2 separate regions of the Homo sapiens genome follow, and region 1 is linked to region 2. Evidence: promoter capture Hi-C in human tissues and cell types (Jung and others, 2019). All regions are on one chromosome and are shown on one strand. The core of a region is centred on a gene start or on the middle of the fragment in contact, and the rest is flanking DNA. Distances in the headings are between cores, read along the strand shown.

Evidence for each region. The method cuts DNA at HindIII sites, captures the fragments that hold promoters and counts their contacts. A contact is called where the count stands out against the background at its distance.
Region 1: the fragment with the promoter of AP2A2 here is called in contact with the fragment with the promoter of RPLP2 in region 2 in 2 of the 25 tissues and cell types used here (IMR-90 fibroblasts and hippocampus).

The regions. Positions count from the first base shown.
Region 1 is chr11:924,614-927,313 of GRCh38, reverse strand. It overlaps AP2A2 (adaptor related protein complex 2 subunit alpha 2), which reads right to left and starts at 1,444. Exons shown (of 22, transcript NM_012305.4): 1 at 1,226-1,444. The coding sequence starts at 1,292. RefSeq lists a silencer at 1,093-1,632. The HindIII fragment of the contact is 16,179 bases long and covers 1-2,700 here.
Region 2 is chr11:808,691-811,390 of GRCh38, reverse strand. RPLP2 (ribosomal protein lateral stalk subunit P2) reads right to left here and starts at 1,424. Exons shown (of 5, transcript NM_001004.4): 1 at 1,352-1,424; 2 at 1,034-1,157. The coding sequence starts at 1,156. It also overlaps a transcript of PIDD1 not described here. RefSeq lists enhancers at 1-85, 1,749-1,938, 2,089-2,188, 2,199-2,488 and a silencer at 1,109-1,378. The HindIII fragment of the contact is 1,454 bases long and covers 6-1,459 here.

The DNA of each region.
Region 1 (2,700 bases), core at 195-2,694, 120 kb before region 2:
ACAGGTGGATCACTTGAGCTCAGGATTTCGAGACCAGCCTAGGCAACATGGCGAGACCCCCCCATCTCTACAAAAAACACGAAAATCAGCCAGGCATGGTGGTGGTGCACGCTTGTAGTCCCAGTGACTCCGGAGGCTGAGGTGGTAGGATCACTTGAGGTGGGAGGTTGAGTGCGCCGTGATGGAACTACTGCGCTCCAGCCTGAGAGCCAGAGCAAGACCCTGTCTCAAAAAAAAGAAAAACAAAAATCATGAAGTCAACTATTTGCTGGATAACAAGGAAAAAAATCAACGCAGCAGACAGGAAACTGGCTTTGTTTCTCCCTCAAATTAAATAAGGAGATGGCCTCTGAAAGCCAAGAGGAGGTTCTGCACACCAAAGTCAAATTAATTGGTGGACCGGTGCACCCACCCAGCCACCCTGCACATCCTTCTAACAGGCCCAGCCTTCCTGGCTTGTTTAACGGTTTGGTGTGGATTTTTCCCACCCCGAGGGGACAGGCACGGGGCTGAGAACGAGGTCTGTGATTGGAGCAGCAGGCAGCGAGGCCATCCCACACCCCGACTGCTGCTCGTGTCCAGATTCCCTCCGGGAATGAGTCATTTTAATCGTCGTAGGTGAGATCTAATCAGGGGTTAATAAGCCTCCAGAACCCAGGTCACAAAGCTGTTTCCTGGGAAGACACTGATTTCCAGATTTCTGCTCCCAAAGCTAAAATCCACGCCGTTTTGGAAAACGCTGGGTTAAACGCTCCAGTACTAGAAAGACCAAGGTGACATCATGCTGGGGAGGGGCGTCTTGGCCCGGAACCCCCTTGGTGGTGCCGCAGCCCCCCGCACGGACCAGCAAACGGGAGTGGAGATGTGGATGAAGGGCCGTGCCCTAAACCCCTAGACCCCGCACCCCTAGACCCTGGACACCCCACCCCGCACCCCCAGACCCAGGGCCCCGCTCTGCATCCTGACCCGCACCCCCATACCCGATACCCCAAGACTCTGAGCGCCGCCCGCACCCCCAGACCCTGGACCCCCACCCCGCACCCTGGCCCCCACCCCCAGACCCGGTACCCCAAGACCCCGAGCGCCGCCCGCACCCTCAGGCCCCGGGCCCCGCCCGCATCCCAGCCTGCACCCCCGCCTCGAGGCCCCGCCCCGGGCCTCCGCTCCCAGACCCCGTCTCCGCCGGCGGCCCCGGCCCCGGCCCCACGCCGCCCCCGCCACTCACAGTTGCGGATATCCGAGATGAAGACCGCCAGGCCCCGCATCCCGTCCCCCTTGGACACGGCCGGCATCTTCCGACGCTCGGGAGCGGCCTCGGCTGGCGGACCCGGGCGGAGGAGCGCGGGGAGCGGGAAGCGGGGAGTGCGGTCGCCGTCACCGCCGCGGAGGAGCCGCCGGGGAGCCGCCTAACCACGGCCGCCTCAGGGTCCCAGCGCCGCTTTCTGGGCCGCCGCGCGCGCGCACGTACGGCGCCCGCACCAGCACGCACGCGCACGCACGCGAGCGACGACGGACGGCGGCCGGGGCGGGTGTCGCGTGAGGCAGCGCGCGCGCGTCCGCGGCACGGGGGCGAGCCGGTCGAGGCAGGCGCGGGGGCGCCCCCTGCAGGCGGACACCATGGACGGAGCCGCTGAAGCCACGCGTTCGCGTCCCGGGGCCGCGCCAAGCTGGCGATGCCGCCCGCGTCCCCCACGGGAAGGGCGTGGGTCCGGGCGGGAACCCGCGTGTGCAGCGGGCCGCCTCTGTCGTTGTTGGTGGTCACTGCAAAAGAGGCGGCCACGCAGGCACACGCGTACGGCCTCGTCCTGGGCCTCGGCCCCGCTAGCTTGCCCCGAGCAGTCTCCGTTTTCTTACTTGGAATAAACGACCTGTGAGCGCTGGGCGGCGGGGCAGCTCCGAGGCCAGGGCCTTGTTTGTTCCGCGGGGGCCGGGGCGGGAGGGCGGCGCCGGGAGGAAGCTGGGGCTCCAGGCGAAGGGGTCACAGCCGCTGGACGGCCTTTGGCGAGGAAACCCTCCCCTAGCACGGTATCCTGAGACGGTGGGGCTGGCCCGCCCCTCCTGCCGCCCTGAGCCGCCAGGGCCACATCTCTTGCGGTCCCTGAGCTGGGGGCGAGGCAGGCCCCGTGCCCGACCCAGCCCAGGGTCTGTGTGGCAGCCCAGGTGCCCCCTCCACATCACCTGGGCCTGCAGAGAAACAACCACCCACCCCACCCCAGTGACAGCGGCCGGGGGCGGCAGCCCCTGCGGAATCTAGTCCCTCGGCGGCGCCAGGACTTTTGGCCACTGTTGCCAGGGCCCCCTCTGCTCCCCAGCCCTCTGCACCACTGCAAGCTGGAGGCCTAGGCCCACCCCTGTGGACACATCGCAAGGGAGGACCTGCTGGGCCAGGCTGCACAGCTCCAGGTCCCGGCCAGGAAGAGACCCCAGGGAGTGGGGAAGCAGATGGCCCTGCCTCACTGTCCTTCCCAGAGCCAGATGGCTTTGAACAGGAAGCTCCCTCCTGCTGCAGTGGGGGGATCTGGACCCTGTACCTGGAACTGGCCCAGACCCACCAGCCAGGGCTTTGTCCCCACCCTGGCTCACTTCCGCAGCCCCAGATGAGAGCTTAGCCCTGGTGGAGCCCGGCCAGGAGGAGGGCACAGGACCCATGCCCCTCCCCAATGAACCGGGTGCCGCACCCAGGCTCTGGGCCTCCAGAAC
Region 2 (2,700 bases), core at 175-2,674:
GACAAAAGGACACAGGGCATCTCACTACTTATGTTGACTACTCATAGGTATCTTCAACACTGGCAAAATAAACTGGCAATGAAATTGACTTTGACTTCAGGCTGGAGTGCAGTGGTAGGATCTCACTGCAGCCTTGACCTCCCGGGCTCAAGTGACTATCCCACCTCAGTCTGGGACTACAGGCATGAGCAACCAAGCCTGGCTAATTTTTTATTGTATTTTAGAGACGAGGCCTGGTTCTGTTAGACTGCAGTGGCACAATCACTACTCAGTGCAGCCTTGACCTCTAAGGCTCAAATGATTCTCCCGCATCAGCCTCATGAGTAGCTGAGACTACAGATGTGCACCACTGCCTCCAACCATTTTTTTTTTTTTTTTTTTTTGTGGAGACCGGGTCTTGCAATGTTTTCCAGACCAGTCTCGAACTTCAAGGCTCCAATAATCCACTCGCCATGGCCTCCCAAAGCCGGGTGAGCCATGCGCCAGGACTGCTTTTTTTTTTTTTTAACGCAATCTTACGCAGCTCACTGGTATTAAACTTCCAAAGCTTGTTAATCACGATTTTGCCTCGTACCCACCCTGCTTTTTTTTTTTTTTTTCCTTTTGAGACAGGGTCTCCTTCTGCCACCCAGACTGGAGTACAGTGGCACGATCCGTGCAACCTCCATCTCCCGGGTTCGAGCGATTTTCCTGCCTCAGCCTCCCAAGTAGGGGGACTACAGGCACCCACCACCACGCCCGGCTAATTTTTGTATTTTTAGTAGGGATGGGGTTTCGACATGTTTACCAGGCTGGTCTCGAACCCCTGACCTCAGGTGATCCGCCTGCCTCGTCCTCCCAAAGTACTGGGACTACAGGCGTGAGCCACCGCGCCCGACCTCCGCCCGGCTTACTTCTCTATCCAAGAAATCGCCAACTAGACTGAAACGAGCCTCTCCCCGAACCCTCCAGCATGTGGCCGGATCAGGCAGAAGAATCGCCTGTATGGGACACTGGGGCCCCACGGCGGCTGCGGGGCAAGGGCGGCCGCTACCTTGTTGAGCCGGTCGTCGTCCGCCTCGATACCCACGCTGTCCAAGATCTTCTTGATGTCCTTGGCGCTGGGGGAGGAGTTGCCCCCTAGGGCAGCCAGCAGGTAGGAGGCGACGTAGCGCATCCTGAGGCGGGCGGAGAGGACGCGACGGCGGAGTTACCCCGGCGGCCTCCTGCCGGCCCATCCCGGGGCCGCCGGGCGAGGCCGCGCGTGGCTCGGCCCGTAGGCCTCCGTCCCAAAAATACCCCGCCGCCCACCCCGCATCCCCACGGACTCCGCGTCCCCAGCCGGCACCCCGGGCCCGGTCACCACACTCACGCGGCGGCGTCTGCGGCGGAGGCGGCGGAGAAGTCTCACGCGTGCGACCTCGGTGGCGACAGGGAGGAAAAGGAAGGCGCCGACGCAAGAGGCGGGGTTAAACCGCTACCCAGAAGGCTCTGGGACCCGTGCGCGGCGCCGCATGAGGCGCCTCAGAGTGACGTCACGAGGCGCTCAGCCAATGACGACGGGGAGGGAGTCGTTGACTCCTTCCCCCTCCCCCTTCCCAGCCCCCGTCAGGCACTTTTCGCGGCAAAGGCGAAGGGCAGCAGTTCCGGAAGTGACTGCTCTTATAGCGTGGGGCGAAGGGCCACCGAAACTCGTGGGGGCGTTGGACGAAGCGAGTCCAAAGGGACGGCATCTGCCTTCGGTACCTAGCACCCCCAGCATGCCACGCGGCGCCTACAGCTCCCAACATGGAGCGCGGCCGCCACGCCCGGGACTCAACCTTTGCCAGCGAACTGCAAGTCCCATGGTGCACCGCTGCCGGAAGTGGCCTGCGCCGCGGGCCTACCCGGAACGGCGCGTGGGCCCGGGCAGAAGCTGCTGGCGGTAGGCTCGCCTTGACTCCTTGGTGGTTCCCTGGCCGCGGCGACCGGTGGTCCCACGTCCAGCCGGGCTCAGTGAGGTGAGCCAGCCGCCTCGGACTTAGCGACTGCGGCCCTATCTGGGAGGCCGCCCCCGCACTGCGGTGTCAGGGCATCCTGTCAGAGGACGAGCGCGGGCCTTGGAGGGCAGGACAATGACGTGAGGCAGCGTCGCCCGCTCACCCCTGCGAGGAGTGAGGTCTGAGTGGTCAGCCCCTGCGCTGGCCGCTTTGGCCCGGAACTGACCTCGGTGTCCATGTGGACATCAGCACCTCAGGGACCCCGCTACATTCTCGGGTCCTGGGAGGGAACAGGGTTGGCCCTGCCTCCTAAGGACTTGAGTTCTTGTGCGAGGACGCAGGAGGTGAATAGGGAGGCGATCCGAAGGACAGGGACAGAGGGAGACTTGGTCCTCTGGGCAGCCTGAGAAAGCTTGAGCTGAGAGATGAGAAGGAGCCATCCCTGCCAATATCCCGGGCGAGCACCAGGAACAGGGTCAGATGCAGGTATCTACCGTGTTAGCAGGCAGCGCCAGCTCCCGTTGGGCTCTAACAGCAGTGCAAACCCTGGGGTGTGTATACGTCAAGCACTGGAACTCGACTTCACAGTCGCCTTCTGTGGCCTCGTTATCATTACCCCCATTTTATAGATGAGGCAGTTGGGTACAGAAAGGTTTTTTTGCTCAGGGTCACACATCTGGGGTAAAGGCGGGAAACCATCTTGGGAACAATGGGACTTTTCTTATTTTGTAATTTTTGAGAC